2 separate regions of the Homo sapiens genome follow, and region 1 is linked to region 2. The links are contacts of gene promoters, found by promoter capture Hi-C in human tissues and cell types (Jung and others, 2019). All regions are on one chromosome and are shown on one strand. The core of a region is centred on a gene start or on the middle of the fragment in contact, and the rest is flanking DNA. Distances in the headings are between cores, read along the strand shown.

Region 1 (4,366 bases), core at 545-3,044, 49 kb before region 2:
ATGTAGAAACAAGGTGACCAACTATACTAGTTTACCTAGAACTGTCTCAGTTTTAGCACTGAAAAGTCCCATGTCCTGGAAACCCCTCGATCTTAGACCAATAGGGAAGGTTGGTCACCCTATGAGAAGAACTGAATCAATCAAGCTACTGATTAAATATTAGTGTGAAGATCAAATATCTCATGCTCTTGGGGTCACTGGAGCTCACATCCAGAAAAACTCACATCCAGAAAAACTCTCCAGTTGCATTCCTCAAAGGAGTTTGGATTTGTGTGAGATTCTGATTCTTCCCTTATTAACCCATGTGTATTCTTCAAATAAACTTTCCCCTTGTTTGGGTTAGCCTGAGTTCTTGCAGGCAAAAGTGTCTGACTGAAATACTAGTTTTTTCAATGGTAGATTACAAGAATTTAGCAGGCTATTTCACATTACTTAAAGCTTTACTACAAAAAGTAATTATTTCCATGGTTTTAAAAAGCTGGAAAACTAGCACTGTAAAGAGAGAATAAAAATAGAAATAAGATAGTAAAAGATTCAGTGAGAAACAAAAAGCTGGAATAAACCATGCTAGAAAACAGTAGCAAACTGAATAGGGACAGATCAATAAAAAGTTATTATATGGTAAGACTAAAACAATGATCAGTTGTTCTTCAATTCCTCACCAAAATGCCGCTTTCAAGGGACATCACAGAAACTGAATCCCTAAAGATAAATATCAGTCCTAATGAAAACAAAATACTGGTTCTATATATTATAAGACACTTGAAATTTCTTCCAGTCTACAATTCTAGCTCCTACCTTTAGGCAACTAATCTTAACTGACCTTTGAACAAGTAGGTAATACCAAGTATTATCAAGCAGAGGGTGAGGTAAGGGGTGCGGATTAAGAGCACTAGTGGCCAAATCATATTTAAAATACAGTATTGTGTTGTTTTTGAGGTCCTATTTCAGAAGAATATTGAAAAACAAAATAGTATTCAGAAGAAATCAATAAGGCATTAGGAATATAGAAACCCAAAAAAGAAAAATGATAACTATAATCAAATACTTGAAGTGCTCTCAGATGCTATCTTATTTTTTATTACCTGAGAGGGCAAAATTAAGACCAATGGATAAAAGTTATAGGGAGGAAGATTTTTGACTCAACATGTTGAAAAAATAGTTGCAATAATTTCAAGTCTTCTAAAAATAAAATGATCAGTCTGAAAAAGTAATGAGTTGTCCAATAGTGGAGGTGTTGTGGCAGGAATTAGATGGCCACATATGGAGATAATATAAAAAGAATTGGGGGGTCCATTCCAAGATGGCTGAATAGGAACAGCTCCGGTCTGCAGCTCCCAGCGTGATCGACGCAGAAGACAGGTAGATTTCTGCATTTCCAACTGAGCTACCTGTCATCTCCTTGGGACTGGCTGGACAGTGGGTGCAGCCTACGGAGGGTGAACCGAAGCAGGGTGGGGCATCGCCTCACCCAGGAAGTGCAAGCAGTCGGGGGATTTCCCTTTCCTAGCCAAGGGAAGCCATGACAGATGGTACCTGGAAAATCGGGACACTCCCGCCCTAATACTGCGCTTTTCCAACAGTCTTAGCAAATGGCACACCAAGAGATTATACCCCGCACCTGGCTTGGCAGGTCCCACACCCACAGAGCCTTGCTCACTGCTAGCGCAGCAGTCCGAGATTAAACTGCGAGGCAGCAGCCTGGCTGGAGGAGGGGCGTCCGCCATTCCTGAGGCTTCAGTAGGTAAACAAAGTGTCTAGGAAGCTCGAACTGGGTGGAGCCCACTGCAGCTCAACGAGGCCTGTCTGCCTCTGTAGACTCCACCTCCAGGGTCAGGGCATAGCTGAACAAAAGGCAGCAGAAACTTCTGCAGACTTAAACGTCCCTGTCTGACAGCTCTGAAGAGAGCAGTGGTTCTCCCAGCATGAAGTTTGAGCTCTGAGAACGGACATACTGCCTCCTCAAGTGGGTTCCTGACCCTCCTGTAGCCTAACTGGGAGACACCTCCCAGTAGGGACCGACTGACACCTCACACAGCCAGGTGCCCTCTGAGACGAAGCTTCCAGAGGAAGGATCAGGCAGCAATATTTGCTGTTCTGCAATATTTGCTGTTCTGCAGCCTCCACTGGTGATACCCAGGCAAACAGGATCTGGAGTGGACCTCCAGCAAACTCCAACAGACCTGCAGCTGAGGGACCTGACTGTTAGAAGGAAAACTAACAAACAGAAAGGAATAGCATCAACATCAACAAAAAGGACATCCACACCAAAACTCCATCTGTAGGTCACCATCATCAAAGACCAAAGGTAAATAAAACCACAAAGATGGGGAGAAACCAGAGCAGAAAAGCTGAAAATTCTAAAAACCAGAGCACTTCTTCTCCTCCAAAGGATCACAGCTCCTCGCCAGCAACGGAACAAAGCTGGATGGAGAATGACTTTGACTAGTTGGCAGAAGTAGGCTTCAGAAGGTCAATAATGACAAACTTCTCCGAGCTAAAGGAGGATGTTTGAACCCATCGCAAGGAAGCTAAAACCCTTGAAAAAAGATTAGACGAATGGCTAACTAGAATAAACAGTGTAGAGAAGATCTTAAATGACCTGATGGAGCTGAAAACCATGCACGAGAACTACGTGACGAATGCACAAGCTTCAGTAGCCAATTTGATCAAGTGGAAGAAAGGGTATCAGTGACTGAAGATCAAATTAATGAAATGAAGTGAGAAGTTTAGAGAAAAAAGAATAAAAAGAAATGAACAAAGCCTCCAAGAAATATGGGACTATGTGAAAAGACCAAATCTATGTTTGATTGGTGTACCTGAAAGTGACAGCGAGAATGGAACCAAGTTGGAAAACAGTCGTCAAGATATTATCCAGGAGAACTTCCCCAACCTAGCAAGGCAGGTCAACCTTTAAATTCAGGAAATACAGAAAACACCACAAAGATACTCCTCGAGAAGAGCAACCCCAAAACACATAATTGTCAGATTCACCAAGGTTGAAATGAAGGAAAAAATGTTAAGGTCAGCCAGAGAAGGTCGGGTTACCCACAAAGGGAAGCCCATCAGACTAACAGCGGATCTCTCGGCAGAAACTCTACAAGCCAGAAGAGAGTGGGGGCCAATATTCAACATTCTTATAGAAAAGAATTTTCAACCCGGAATTTCATATCCAGCCAAACTAAGCTTCAAAAGTGAAGAAATAAAATCCTTTACAGAGAAGCAAATGCTGAGAGATTTTCTCCCCACCAGGCCTGCCTTACAAGAGCTCCTGAAGGAAGCACTAAACATGGAAAGGAACAACCAGTACCAGCCACTGCAAAAACATGCCAAATTGTAAAGACCATCGATGCTAGGAAGAAACTGCATCAACTAATGGGAAAAATAACCAGCTAACATTATAATGACAGGACCAAATTCACACATAACAATATTAACCTTAAATGTAAATGGGCTAAATGCCCCAATTAAAAGACACAGACTGGCAAATTGAATAAAGAGTCAAGACCATCAGTGTGCTATATTCAGGAGACCCATCACACGTGCAGAGGCACATATAGCCTCAAAATAAAGGGATGGAGGAAGATCTACCAAGCAAATGGAAAACAAACAAAAAAAAAAAGCAGGGGTTGCAATCCTAGTCTCTGATAAAACAGACTTTAAACCAATAAAGATCAAGAGACAAGGCCATTACATAACGGTAAAAGGATCAATTCAACAAGAAGAGCTAACTATCCTAAATGTATATACACCCAATACAGGAGCACCCAGATTCATAAAGCAATTCCTTAGAGACCTACAAAGAGACTTAGACTCCCACACAATAATAATGGGAGACTTTAACACCCCACTGTCAATATTAGACAGATCAACGAGAGAGAAGGTTAACAAGGATATACAGGACTTGAACTCAGCTCTGCAACAAGTGGACCTAATAGACACCTACAGAACTCTCCACCCCAAATCAACAGAATATACATTCTTCTCAGCACCACATCGCACTTATTCCAAAATTGACCATATAGTTGGAAGTAAAGCACTCCTCAGCAAATGTAAAAGAACAGAAATCACAACAGACTGTCTCTCAGATGACAGTGCAATCAAATTAGAACTCAGGATTAAGAAACTCACTCAAAACCACACAACTACATGGAAACTGGACAACCTGCTCCTGAATGACTACTGGGTAAATAACAAAATGAAGGCAGAAATAAAGATATTCTTTGAAACCAATGAGAACAGAGACACAACATACCAGAATCTCTCGGACACATTTAAAGCAGTGTGTAGAGGGAAATTTATAGCACTAAATGCCCACAAGAAAAAGCAGGAAAGATCTAAAATCGTCACCCTAACATCACAATTA
Region 2 (4,132 bases), core at 3-2,502:
ACGAGTACATTCCTTTTCCCTCTGACCTGGGCGCTAGCAAGGGCAAAGAACCCGAGCCTGCCAGCTTGGCCTCCTCCCACAGCCTCCCTCGGAGGCATGCCATGCCAAGCACTCTTTCTGTCTCTGTTCATGAATAAAAGAGATGGATGGGCTTATTCTTATAGAGAAGTGAATTTCACTTACTCCCCTGGCCCGAAAACTAGACCAAATGAGGAACTGTTTTAGCTCATCAAACTCATATATTCCTCCTGGCTTCCTTACAAAACAAGCCTTTCAAACAATCATTGTCCTCAGGAAAGTTGTTGAGCTTCCTCCAGCTGTGAGAATAAGTCCTAATCTCCAGAGAAATGGTGGGGGGAGGAGGAGGCTTATTGCTTCCCAGCATTTGGGGGGAACATGATCCAACCCCTGGCCTCCTGCCACCCATCTGCCCTGCTCCCACATGCTCAGGTCCCAGGGCACAGAAAAAGGGCAGACTCCCTAATCACACTAACATCAAAATAAAGAGGCTGGGCCGCTGTGTAGCCAGGACATGCCCATGCCACCGCCTATTGAACAGTTCATAGGAGTGGCAGTAATCTACTGTGTGAGGAGAGAGGGCAATTAAAAAGCTGAAAGAGAAGGAGGCCCTCTGTGTATTCCATTCCCTCCTCCTTAATGCCTCCAAGGGTCCTTGCATCCCTAGTCTCCTAAACTCCAGCTCTGATTCGCCATCAACCCATGGAGCAATTCCAAGGCCCCAGTTACCCATCACCTCCACACCAGGTCAAGTTTTGTCTCAGCCCCAAAGGCACTGACATTTCTAGTTTGCCCCCTCTGCCCTGAACCCCACAGCATGCCTGTCTCAGCTCCCTGTCCCTCGGCACTTCCCCAGGCTCATTTGAGCAGGTGTGCCTTCGCAGCTCCCCTAAACTTCCCAGGTGCCTCATCCATAATGAGATAATGCATGTAGGGGAAAAGTTTCTCAAGAAGGTGGAAGAGGCAGCAGGACTTGGATAAGGAGTACCTGCTGGTCAGCCTTGAGATGCACAGGTGAAGGTTAGGGTGAGATGAGAACATGCCATACCCTGGTGCTGAATCCCTGAGGGGCCAGCTTGCCAGGCTTAAGCCAAATCTGCCTTAAATTGGGGGTGGGGAGGGGTAAGTAAGGAAGTGGGGTTTGTTTTTGTGTTGTTTTCATCTTCATCTTTGTATTACTAGCATCCAGCAGAGTGCCTAGCACATACTGGATGCTCAATAAACTTTTGATGAAATGAAATGACAACTTTATTCCACATAAACAAGGGTAACAAAACAAGCTGCTTAAATATACCAGTCATTTCTCTTCTTCTCCTTTCACCTCCTTTACCCTCTTTCCAAACCCCAAATTGTCCGTTCCAAAATCACTTACCCGTTCATTCATTTACTTATTCAGGTGTTCTTTTATTTATTCGACAAACATTTGTTTACCTACCATGGACTAGGCCCTGTGCTAGACACTGCTGATACAGCATAACTATGTCAGGAAGACAGATCAGTAAACAGATTACAATATAGTGTGTAAAATGCAATGGCAGAAGTAGATACAAGGTGCTCTGGGAGCATGTAGATTAGATGTCAGCAAAGGCATCTTGGAGGAGAACAGACCTGAGTTGAGTCTTTCTTAGAAAGACTTGTTAGTTAATCTGGTTTTTAAAAGTATGAGAGGACACACTCCAAGCAGAGGGAGAAGCATGTATAAAAGCTTGGAAGTGCAAGACACGATGGGGGGGAATTCAGGGTACTGAGCCTAGCAGTTGATGAAATTATTTCAGGAAAGTATACAAAGTAGAAGGTGAAGAAAGCTGCAGATAGATTTCTGAGGCATCAGTATGTGTAGAAAATTTAAAAGGACTTCACCAAGAAGGCTTAAAAGGCACAGCCAGCAAGATAGGAGAATATATAGGAGATAACTATATCACACAATCAAAAGAACAAGAGAGTTTCAAGAAAAAGGGAGCATTCGGGACTACAAGGGCAGGGGGCTCACATATGAAATGAAGTTAAAAGTGCATGTTAAATTTGGCAACAATGAAAACATTGAGTGACTTGGCATAAGTAGTTTCAGACATGTAGTAGGGGTTAAAGCCAGATTGCAACAGGTAAAAAGTGATATGTGGAACTTCTCTGCTAAATACTTGAGACTAGATGTTTGAGAGGTCTTCCTGTTTCAAAACAACTAGGTCTTGCTTAAATGATATTTGTTTTGCATTGCTGGCTTCAAGAGATGGGGGAATTTTTTTTTTTTTTTCAGACAGAGTCTCATTCTTGTCACCCAGGCTGGAGTGCAATGGCGCAGTCTAGGCTCACTACAACCTCTGCCTCCTGGGTTCAAGTGATTCTCCTGCCTCAGCCTCCCGAGTAGCTGGGACTACAAGCACGTGCCACCATGTCCAGCTAATTTTTGTATTTTTGGTAGAGACAGGGTTTCACTATGTTGGCCAGGCTGATCTCAAACTCCTGACCTCATGATCCGCCCACCTTGGCCTCCCAAAGTGCTGGGATTACAGGCATGAGCCACTTCCCTGCCAGAGATGGGGGAAATTTTTAAGCAGTCAGAAGTAAAACAAAATTTAAAAGCACAGTGAGCTCAAAGTACTTAGCACTCATTAAATATGAGATTACCAAGGGAGGTGAAGCAAGATGGCTGAATAGAAGCCTTCACTGATTGTCTTCCTGCAAAAACACCAGATTGAACAACTGTCCACACAAAAAAAGCACCCTCATAACAACCAAACATCCAATGAGTGATCACAATACCTGGTTTTAACTTCATATCACTGAAAGAGGCACTGAAGAAGGTAAGAAAGACAGTCTTGAATTGCTGACACCACCCCTCCCTCATCACCCGGCAGCTGCCGCATGGAACAGAGAGAGAATCTCTGCACTTGCGGGAGGGAGAGTGCAGTCATTGTGGGGCTTTGCATTGGAACGCAGTGCTGCCCTGTCACAGGGAGAAACAACACCAGGCAGAACTCAGCCAGCACCCACAGAAGGAGCATTTAGACCAGCCCTCGCCAGAGAGGAATTACACATCCCAGTGGTTGGAACCTGAATTCCAAAAAGACTCACGACCATGGGTTAAAGTGCTCTGGGGTCCTAAATAAACTTTTAAAAGTCTGTCTAGGACACAAGGACTGCAATTCTAGGGGGGATTCCTGATGCTGTGCTGGGCTTGAAGCCAGTGGACTTGAGCATATGATCTAGTGAGACACCAGCTGGTGCAGCCAAGGGAGTGCTTGCATCATCCCTCTGCCAACACCAGGCATCACAGCTTGCAGCTTTGAAAAAGACTCCTTTCTGTGGTTGGAGGAGAGGAGCAGGAAGAGTAAACAGGACTGTGTATTGCAACTTGGATATCAGCTCAGCCACAGTAGGACAGGGCATAAGACAAGCTCAGCCACAGTAGGATAGGGCATAAGACAGAGTCCTGAGTCCCCCATTTCAGGCCCTAGCTCCCAGACAACATTTCTAGACACCCTGGGCCAGAAGGGAACCCATTGGTTTGAAGGGAATGACCCAGTCCTGGCAGCATTCATCACCTGCTCTCTCTAGAGCCCAAGGGCCCTCAATAATTTGCAATAGAACCCAAGCAGTACTTGCCATTGGCCTTGGGTGAGACTAAGAGACATGTTGGCTTCAGATGTCACCAAGCACCTTTCCAGCTGTGGTGGCTATGGGAAGGGGCTCCTTCTGCTTGAGAAAAGTTGAAGGAAGGATAAAGGGGACTTTGTCTTGCAGCTTAGGTACCGGTGTGGCCTCAGTGCGGTAGAGAACCAAGTGGGCTCTTGGGGTCCCCAATTCCAGGGTTTAGCTCTTGTATGGCATTTCTGGACCTGCCCTAGTGGCCATAGTGGAGCCCACTGCCTAGAAAGGAGAGTCCTATGCTTAGCAGCATTCATAAGCTGACTCAAGAGCCCTTGATCCATGAATGAACATCAGCAGTAGCCAGGCAGTATTGACCATGGGCCTGGGGCAGTGGTGACCAAGGGAAGAGACACCTCTGCTTGAGGAAAGGAGAGGGAAGAGTGGGAAAGACATTGCCTTGGGCTTGGGTGCCAGCTCAGCTGGAGTAAAATAGAGCACCAGGTAGATTCCTAAAGTTTCTTACCCC

Evidence for each region. The method cuts DNA at HindIII sites, captures the fragments that hold promoters and counts their contacts. A contact is called where the count stands out against the background at its distance.
Region 1: a fragment that was not itself captured here is called in contact with the fragment with the promoter of HEPN1 in region 2 in 2 of the 25 tissues and cell types used here (H1 embryonic stem cells and adrenal gland).

What each region holds. Positions count from the first base shown.
Region 1 is chr11:124,965,720-124,970,085 of GRCh38, reverse strand. The region is part of intron 4 of CCDC15 (coiled-coil domain containing 15); the gene reads right to left. Among named protein-coding and RNA genes, the nearest start is that of CCDC15, 14 kb to the right of the region's middle. The HindIII fragment of the contact is 4,673 bases long and covers 1-4,130 here.
Region 2 is chr11:124,916,370-124,920,501 of GRCh38, reverse strand. HEPN1 (hepatocellular carcinoma, down-regulated 1) reads right to left here and starts at 1,252. Exons shown (of 1, transcript NM_001037558.4): 1 at 1-1,252. The coding sequence starts at 751. The coding sequence ends at 485. It overlaps HEPACAM (hepatic and glial cell adhesion molecule), which reads left to right. Exons shown (of 7, transcript NM_152722.5): 7 at 1-1,297. The region is part of intron 1 of LOC107984406 (a long non-coding RNA gene); the gene reads right to left. The HindIII fragment of the contact is 7,901 bases long and covers 1-4,132 here.